Regions from separate parts of the Homo sapiens genome. Here region 2 is linked to region 1. Evidence: promoter capture Hi-C in 16 types of primary human blood cells and fetal thymus (Javierre and others, 2016). All regions are on one chromosome and are shown on one strand. The core of a region is centred on a gene start or on the middle of the fragment in contact, and the rest is flanking DNA. Distances in the headings are between cores, read along the strand shown.

Evidence for each region. Contacts are between HindIII fragments. The CHiCAGO score rates a contact against its expected background, and 5 or more counts as called.
Region 2: a fragment that was not itself captured here is called in contact with the fragment with the promoter of GATAD2B in region 1 in 5 of 17 cell types (total B cells, M1 macrophages, M2 macrophages and 2 more); the score reaches 7.7 in total B cells.

The regions. Positions count from the first base shown.
Region 1 is chr1:153,920,531-153,925,181 of GRCh38, forward strand. GATAD2B (GATA zinc finger domain containing 2B) reads right to left here and starts at 2,442. Exons shown (of 11, transcript NM_020699.4): 1 at 2,203-2,442. It overlaps LOC101928059 (a long non-coding RNA gene), which reads left to right and starts at 2,843. Exons shown (of 4, transcript XR_922160.3): 1 at 2,843-3,432. RefSeq lists silencers at 2,226-2,545, 3,223-3,517, 4,576-4,651 and an enhancer at 2,676-2,915. The HindIII fragment of the contact is 8,959 bases long and covers 796-4,651 here.
Region 2 is chr1:153,757,354-153,762,004 of GRCh38, forward strand. It overlaps INTS3 (integrator complex subunit 3), which reads left to right. Exons shown (of 30, transcript NM_023015.5): 10 at 219-410; 11 at 2,173-2,260; 12 at 2,958-3,037; 13 at 3,474-3,565; 14 at 4,217-4,323. Among named protein-coding and RNA genes, the nearest start is that of SLC27A3, 16 kb to the right of the region's middle. The HindIII fragment of the contact is 8,511 bases long and covers 1-4,651 here.

The DNA of each region.
Region 1 (4,651 bases), core at 1,192-3,691:
CTAGAAAAGTATTTGAGTGCAGCCTATATTCAGACCCTACTGGGACTGCCTCTAAACAGGAAGTTAACACACATCACATACGGTCAGGGAAGGCAAACCACAGTGTCATAAAGATGGATGCTGCTGTCAACTACAAATCACTCTCACCTCATGGAGAGTGTTCTCAAGTAAGGAATAATAGGCAGGACAAAAGTCTGTAAGCCTCACCTCTACTCAAACTGGGTCACTCAGCCTATAGATTCAGCCTTCTGATTCCTGCTGATTAGTACTTTTCTACCTTGTTCCATGATGACTATCACTGCCACTGGACTAAAAAAACTCTATTCCCCTAAAAAGTGAAGACAGCCTTACCATCAACTAGTTATTCATATAAGCTATCTGCTTATATGAATCCGATCCTTGACCCAGTCCATTCCCAAATGGCCAGGGACTAGATATCCGTCACAAAAAAAGCAGCACGATCCAACAAGTGTGGGCCTTCCCTCAAAATATACTGAACTCCTCCATAGCACCTCCAGAAGTGGCCTCCTTCCCAACTAAGTACTGACAGAAATACTACTCTAGGACAATACTTGAAAGGCTGCTCCAGCACCAAAATAAGAATCCAAGTTATCAGACTGCAAGGAAGAGTTCAGGTCAGCATACCAAATGAAAAGCAATAAAGTTAGCACTAAACTCCCAAACAGGATAATCACCAACAACATATAGGCACCATGCTGCTGCCAGAAAACATCAAAGTCATCTGTGCTAGGAGGGGAAGGAGACTAGATGGCTGGAGGACAGAGATGGGAAGGAAGCTTACTTTTCACTTTGTACAACCACATGCATGCTTTTCTACTCAAAATATAAATTTTTAGAAAAAATGTCCTAAAAACTACAAAAGCATCAGCTCTTCTCCAACACAGATCTGTTAAACCTGTTTTAATTCCATCAGCTACAAATCCAAATCCCTCTTTTGCAGTCTGGCCTGAAAACACTGCTCTTGCCCTTTGCTGAAATATATTAAGTATCCTTCGCCTCTGCTGAAATGTATTAAGTATCCCCCCATCTCTCTCTCTCTCTTACACACACACACACGCACACACACACGCCCCCCAAATAAGCATTTATCAGAAATGAGAAAACTGGTTCTCAGGAGGCTACCTGATTTTCCAGGGGACAACAGAGAAAAGGTTGCTAGCTAGCTCAGTTAGCATCCACATGCCACCCACCACCAAGCCTCCATCTCCACCTCACTGCCAGCCCTATGAGCTAACATCTTGTGTTTGGAAGTTGATGCTGGGGAAGAATCCAAAGAGGCTACCATACCTTTATGAAACGGGAAAGCTGTACCGGGCGCGCGAATGGCACCTGAACCTCTGCACTCGCATGAGTGGCTCGCTCCTCAATGTAATTGAGAGCAGGGAGGCCAAAAGTACTCTAAGTCCCGGTGTGGTTAGGGAAGGGTAAGTTCCACCGACCCTCAGGAACTGAACTGGAAGACAGATCCAGTGTGTCCCACAAGCCCAGTCGCTGTAGAAGCTAAGTGCCCACATAGCCTGAGACAATTCTCTTCCCCTACGGGAGGGCGAGCGAACGGTGGACGACGAAATAAAGGGGTAAGGTTATGCGCTCCTGATCCCTTTCCCTAAATAAAGATAATTATCTGGTGCTTCCTTTACCCTTAGATTCCCCATTCGTCCCATCCGCCCGCAAACACAAGACTGAGCAGGGAGCGGCCCCCGCACCCTGAGGGCACCACTGGGGGTGGAGAGAGTTAAAAAAAAAAAGGGGGGGGCGCGCTAGAGAGGAAAGGAGGGGAGCATGGCGGGCATGAGGCAGGGAGTGAAAGCGGGGATGGCGGGGGAAACGGGGCGTGAGGGAGGGGAGAAAGAGTACAAGGAGACGAAATGAAGGGACACGAGCTGGGGGCGCGCGAGGCCGAAGTGAAAGACCGGGTCGCGCGCGCCAAGGGGGGAGAGGATGAGGTGAAGAAGGAGCGCGAGGCGGGGGCGCGCCGTGCCGGGGTGGGGGGAGGGGGACGCAAGGCGGGGGCGCGCGGGCGGGCGTCGGCTCGCGGGCGCTTCCCCTCCCCCCGCCCCTCCACCTTTCCCTTCCCCCACCTCCGCCACCACTGCCTCCTCCCAGCCTCCTTCCCTTCCTCGCTCCTCACCGCCCCCGGGCGGGCGGGCGGCCAGGCTGGCCTAGGCCAAAGCTCCTCACCTGGCGGTGGCGGTGTAACTCCCGGCTAGCTCGCCTCCTCAGGCGGCGGCGGAGGCGTCGAAAAAGGAAGAGGCGACGGCACAGGGGATCCAGACCCTGCTGACGGGACTAGGGACGGGGGTAGGGGAGGGGGGCGGGCCGGACCGGGGCGGGCGGGCGGAGCAGACACTGCGGTACAGACGGGGGCAGCGGCGGCGGCGACGGCTGCACCGGCGGCGGCGGCACCACACAAACAAGGACGCTGATTGGGCAGCTGCCAAGCGCCTCGGCTCCGCCTTACCCACACGCCACGACGCCCATTGGGCGACCTAAGCCGGCCACCCCGCCCTCATCTTCTCGGCCATGCCAGTAGAAGACTAGATGCCGGGACTTCACCCCACCCTTGAAGAATGAGTGGCCGGAGAAGTGATGATTGGCGTGCTTAAAACCCAATCATAAACGGAGGAGGGGGGATGGTCTAGCGGGGGCGCGTTAATGGGTACCTCTGCCAGTCCCAGACACATCCGGGTCTTCGACAGCCCATTAAGTGTCGGGGGTCAAAAAATCGCTTCAGGCTGCAACTTTACCTTAGAGACGTTTTGGTCCCCAGGCAGCCGCCGTACCCCAGTCTCTCCAAACCGGGATTCCCCTTTGGCCATCTCTCATTCTTTCAATTCTAAAGATGGAGACTGGCGAACGGCGATGGGGTCTGCGGTGGGCGGTGTTTCGTCGCGACAGACTCTAGGAAATTTCACGATAGAACTAGCTTTAGGCGCTTGAGCCTTGCCGTCTTTTTGGGGTGTGGCCTGTCTCCGTCTGCCAAAGGCTTTGAGCTTCCTGGTGTTCATCGTACCTCCGCTTGGTCCTGTCGTGACTAAACCACGACAGCAGGAAAAAAAAAAAAGCAGCTAGCCAAGTTGCTGAGGAATTACGGTGTGCAGAGCCCTCGCAGCTCCTTCTCTTGGGAACTCCTGGTCTGGTTAGGTTCTCAGCGAGGAAACAGCCTCCCACCCCGCCCGATTCCACCTAATTAACTCAAGGGCCAGCTCCTTTTGCTGGCCTCCCTGCTTCCACGGAGCAGTTAGGCCCGCCTAAACTCAGCGAGCGTTTCTGGAGCACCTTGAGGATAGGGACCAAGTAACAGAGTCCGGGTGTTAAGGTTATGATAGTAGTTAACGTTTTTGGAAAGAGACTGTGTCAGGCTCTGTGCTAAGAACTTTACATGAAGTATTTATTCCTCATGACTGTGAGGTAGGTACTGTTATCCCTACTTTACAAATGAGGAAAATTAGGATCAAAAAATTTGTCCAGTTACACGTTAAGTGGTAGAGCTGAAATTTGAACCCAAGTAGATGAGGAAACTAAGGCTCAGAGAGGTTAAGTAACTTGCCAAAGGTCAGACCGCTAGTTAGTGACTAAGCAGTGGTTTAAACCCAGAAACAACTGGTTCCACAGGCATTTTGTTATTGTTGTTTTCTCACTGTGTCTCCCAGGCTGGAGTGCAGTGGTACAATCTCAGTTCCTGCAACCTCCGCCTCCCAGGTTCAAACGATCCTCCTGCCTCAACAGCCTCCCGAGTAGCTGGGATTACAGGCGCGCGGCTAATTTTTGTGTTTTTAGTAGAGACGGGGTTTCGCCATGTTGGCCAGGCTGGTCTCGAACTCCTGACCTCAGGTGATCCTCCTGCCTCAGCCTCCCAAAGTGCTGGGATTACAGGTGTGTGAGCCACCACGCCAGCCTCCACAGGTATTTGAACATGTTTTTTAAATTATTTAAAAGTCATGCTGTGCAATGGAAATGAAATTATAATGGAGGACATGGCAACTTAAAGCCGTAGGTAGATCCTACACAAACACAGACGCACCCATTTTTTTTTTCTTTTTTTTCTTTGAGACAGTCTCCCTCTGTCGCCCAGGCTGGAGTGCAGTGGCGTGATCTCAGCTGCCTGCAATCTCCACCACCCAGGCTCAAGCCATCTTTCCACCTCAGCCTCCCAAGTAGCTGGCATTACAGGCGCACGTGACCACGCCCGGCTGATTTTTGTATTTTTGGTAAAGACAGGGTTTCACTATGTTTCCCAGGCTGGTCTCATAAATTCCTGGCCTCAAGTGATCCACCCGCCTTGGCGTCCCAAAGTGGTGGGATTACAGGCGTGAACAACCGCGCCCACCGCAGCCCCCACTTTATTTATTTTTTAAATTAGCGATGAGGTCTTGCTATGTTACCCAGGCTGCTCTGAAACTCCTGGGCTCAAGAGATCCTCCCGGCCGGGCGCGGTGGCTCAGGCCTGTAATCCCAGCACTTCGGGAGGCCGAGGCAGGTAGATCACGAGGTCAGGAGATCGAGACCATCCTGGCTAACACAGTGAAACCCCGTCTCTACTAAAAATACAAAAAAGTAGCCGGTCGTGGTGGCGGGCGCCTGTAGTCCCAGCTACTCGGGAGGCTGAGGCAGGAGAATGGCGTGAACC
Region 2 (4,651 bases), core at 631-3,130, 160 kb before region 1:
ATCAGAATGCAGGGCAAGCTAGAAATTTTCAGCATTTTTTTTTTAATCAAGAAGTTCTCCTAAAGGAGGGGAGACTTACGAGACAGTATGAGCTAATGAATGAATTGTGGAGAAATAGAGGTCTAGGGCAAACCTAGAGTTAAGTGGTGCTCGTTTTCCTCTGGCCAAGGACCCCACACTGTCTTCTAAGGTCTTTTTCTTGCTTCCCCTTTCCCCAGGTGCGATTTGGTCAACAAAAGCGATACCAAGATTGGTTCCAGCGCCAGTACCTGTCAACTCCAGATAGTCAGTCTCTGCGCTGTGACCTCATTCGCTACATCTGTGGGGTAGTCCACCCTTCTAATGAAGTACTGAGTTCAGATATCTTGCCCCGGTGGGCCATCATTGGTTGGCTCCTGACAACGTGCACGGTGAGGGCAAAAGATACTGGGTGGTGAAGGGTGCCTCTTCCATGGTGTTCCCATGTTTCCATTCTTCTTCCTGACTCCAGGGCCACTTGACCCCTAAGGGCCCTTCTTTCACTCTGGTCTTCCAGAGTGTCTCAGCCTTCACTTCCCTTTGTGTCTCTAGAAATTTACTTACACTCATTATTTTCCATCTGGGTTTGAGATTGAACAGGTTCATCTCCCCCATTACTGCCAACCCCCAAAAGCCTGGGTTTCTGGAGCGTCCCTGCCTTTTTCATTTTTGCTTCCAGAAACCATATACAGCTATTCCTCTTAACTGTTTCTTTCTCAGATTCAGAGCTTGCATTCTTTAGACCCTCACCACCATGCCTTTTTGGCATCAGCTTTGTCTACTTCCCTTCTGTAAATGCAGCGAATCTGCAGTGGAGGCATTTCCTTTCAAATGTTTTCCTCTCTGTGCCTAGGGTGGGAAACTATCCATTCTCTGGCATCTGGCTGCCCCCTGACCTCTTCCAACAGGGTTCCTCCTCCCCCATTTGACTGGGTCCTTGGAATGTGCTGATTCAGATATGACAACAGGCTATTCCTGGAGGGGTGGGGGTCTCTTCTTCAGGAATGTGCCTGGAGAGCCCAGAAAGGGCAGCCAAGGGGTGCTAGTCTGACTGTTGCCTCAGCTCAGGGGTGATGAGTGGACTTCTGAGTCCAAGCATTGTCCCCTATGGGAATCAGAGATATGAACTGCTGGATGTATCAAGAACCCAGGCCTGCCGAGCACGGTGGCTCACGCCTGTAATCCCAGCACTTTGGGAGGTTGAGGTGGGCAGATTGCTTGAGCTCAGGAGTTTGAGACCAGCCTGGGCAACATGGCAAGACCCCATCTCTACAAAAAAATACAAAAATTAGCCAAGTGTGTTGGTGTGCGGCTGTAGTCCCAGGCTGAGGTGAGAGGACCGCTTGAGCCTGGGAGGTAGAGGTTGCAGTGAGCTGAGATCCTGCCACTGCACTCCAGCCTGGGTGACAGAGTCAGACCCTGTCTCAACAACAAAAAGAAAAGAACCCAGGCCTGGCCAGGCATGGTGGCTCTCACCTATAATCCCAATACTTTGGGAGGCTGAGGTGGGAGGATCACTTGAGCCCAGGAGTTCAAGACCAGCCTGGGCAACATGGCAAAACCCATCTCTACCAAAACAAAACAAAACAAAACATAAAGCCACGCATGGTGGTGTGCTCCTGTAGTCCCAGCTACCAAGGAGGCTGAGGCTGGGAGGATCACCCGAGCCTAAGAGGTCAAGGCTGGAGTAAGCCGTGATCATGCCACTGCGCTCCAGCCTGGGTGACATGGCAAGACCCTCATCTCTACAAAAAAATAGAAAAATGAGCCAGGTGAGGTGGTGCGTGCCTGTAGTCCCAGGCTGAGGTGAGAGGCTCTCTCGAGCCTGGGCGGTGGAGGTTGCAGTGAGCTGAGATCATGCCACTGCACTACAGCCTGGGCAACAGAGCAAGACCCTGTCTGGAAAAAAAAAAAAAAAGGTTCGGGGGGTACCTGGCCCAATCCCTGTCCTCTGTCCTCTTGGTTAAGACCATAAGACCACAGAGTATTCACTCATACACAACACAAGGGGGGTTAGCATTTCACCGTGTTTCACTAGGAACTGAATTTCATAGATGAAACAGCCAAGTGGGGCCTGGAATCTGTCTTGGGACTCTGAAATGGAGGGGGGTGATTGATGAAACTAGCCCTCTGTTTCTCCCCTCTCTTTTCCAGTCAAATGTCGCTGCCTCCAATGCCAAGCTGGCTTTGTTTTATGACTGGCTGTTCTTTAGTCCAGACAAGGATAGCATTATGAACATAGGTATGTGACCAAGACCAGGCGGCTCCACTTCCCCATCCCCCTAAGCCCCCACTGCCTTCCTTAGTGATAGCAGTCATAAATCTCAGGGCACCGTGGAGTGGAGGCAGTTTATCTGGGAGCAGCTCTGTTGTTCCTCATCAGTTTTCCCTTGACCTAGAAAGAGAATTGCTTTGATAAGGCTAAGCCATCACTGTACCTCCTCCCCACAGTCTTCAGGATGCATGGTCTTCAGGAGGGGAGGGCATGGGCAAAGGAAAAGGCTGTACCATGTCCTGCTTCTCCTCACCTATTACTTCCCTTCTCAAAGCTGAATGCTGGGAACAAGAAGGGAAATGAGGGCTACAAGCTGTTTCGGGGCCTGTCTGCTCTTGGGTCTGCTCAGTGGAAATGGGGGGAATAGACATAGCACTTCCCAGAGCCATTCATGTATATTGACATCCCATTTTATGGAGATAGAAACAGACTGACTTTAGCCTGGCGTGGTGGCGCACACCTGTAATTCCAGCTGCTGGGGAGGTTGAGGCATGAGATTCGCTTGAACCTGGGAGGCAGAGGCTTCAGTGAGCTGAGATCGTACCATTTGCACTCCAGCCTGGGTGACAGAGCAAGACTCTGTTTCAAAAAAAAAAAAAAAAAAAAAAAAAAGAGAGAGAGAGACTGACTGATGTGAGGGGCTCTTTAATTTCACATCCTCCAGAACCAGCCATCCTGGTCATGCACCACTCCATGAAGCCCCACCCAGCCATCACTGCCACACTCCTGGACTTCATGTGCCGCGTAAGTGTTAGAGCTCTCTTTTCTCCCCATGCCTGGATGAGCAGAATTCAGTGTATCTCCCCTAATCTCCCAGTGAACGGGTCTTCTCGGTATGCCTTGACTGAGAGCAGAAATGGTCATGGGTCCTATCCCCCAAGTTAATAAATGCTTCCCTTCCATATTCCACTGTCTGCACTTGGATCTTCCCATTTTCTGTGGGGTTTCTCAATCACAAGGATGGTGACTCAAGGTAGAATCTGGTTTCCTTGGGGAGCAGCCAGGTCCAGTAAGAATTTCTCATTTGAGTGGCCTGGAGTGGTCAGGAAGTCCAGTTCTCTCTGCAGCCATACTCCCCAGTGTCCCCTGATCAAAACCAAAGCAGCTTTTCAGATCTAATTCAGCGGAAGCCTCTGGATGGAGTCCTGTGCTCATTTTTCCCCTCCTTCTTCGCTTCCAGATCATTCCCAACTTCTATCCACCATTGGAGGGCCACGTGCGGCAGGGTGTCTTTTCCTCCCTCAACCACATTGTGGAGAAACGGGTCTTGGCGTAAGGAATTTGGTGGGGGAAGGAGGTTGTTTTCCCATTTTTCATTAGGTCCAGGTGTATCCAAATGTTGCCATAGCACTGCTGGCCCTTTTCTCTGACAGGTGTAAAAAGTATTGGCTCTACCTCAGACTGCTGGGCATATGTCTTCTTGGCTCTTAGAGGAATTTCTCTCCTGCCATCGTATTACAAAGGTCTTCAAATGCCTTCATGTTCCCTGTTGACCCCCTTCAGGGATCTGAGTATGGTCCAGTTAGACTGATTGTGCTTAGACCTATCTCAACTCCATGTTGAGTTAGAAATGAGAAGCTCTGGCCAGACACAGTGGCTCATGCCTGTAATCCCAGCACTTTGGGAGGCCAAGGTGGGCAGATCACCTGAGGTTAGGAATTTGAGACCTGCCTGGCCAACATGGCAAAACCCGTGTCTACTAAAAATACAAAAATTAGCCAGGTGTGATGGTGCACACCTGTAATCCTAGCTACTTGAGAGGCTGAGGCACAAGAATCGCTTGAATCCGGGAGGTGGAGGTTGCAGTGAGCCGAGATTGTGCCACTGCACTCCAGCCTAGGTGATGAGAGTGACACTCTGTCTCAAAAAAAAATAAAAATAAGAGAAGCTCTGATATTGACCTTCATCATGTTCCCCATTTAGACACCTAGCTCCCCTGTTTGACAACCCTAAGTTGGATAAGGAGCTGCGGGCAATGCTGAGAGAGAAGTTTCCTGAGTTCTGCAGCTCACCCTCCCCACCTGTGGAAGGTATGAGGCCCGCCCATTCCATCACCTGTGTCAAAAGAGGGGCAAGACAACCAGGCCTTCAGGCCAGAGCCCCTTTCAGGATGTCCCACACAGTTCTCCACTTCCGTGACACTGTCCATCACAGTTTTTCCTTCCTCAGTTTATCTTTTTTATTCATTTTTGTGTTGTCTGTCTTGATTCTCTTGCTTTATCTAATCTTATTTGACTTGCTCATCTTTCTTGTTCTCTTAACTCTTTTCTCCTAGTAACTCCTGCTCAGTAGTTAGAAGGCTTTCATGTAATATTTACAATATTTATCTCACTTTAACTTGCCCATCTCTCTTCCCAG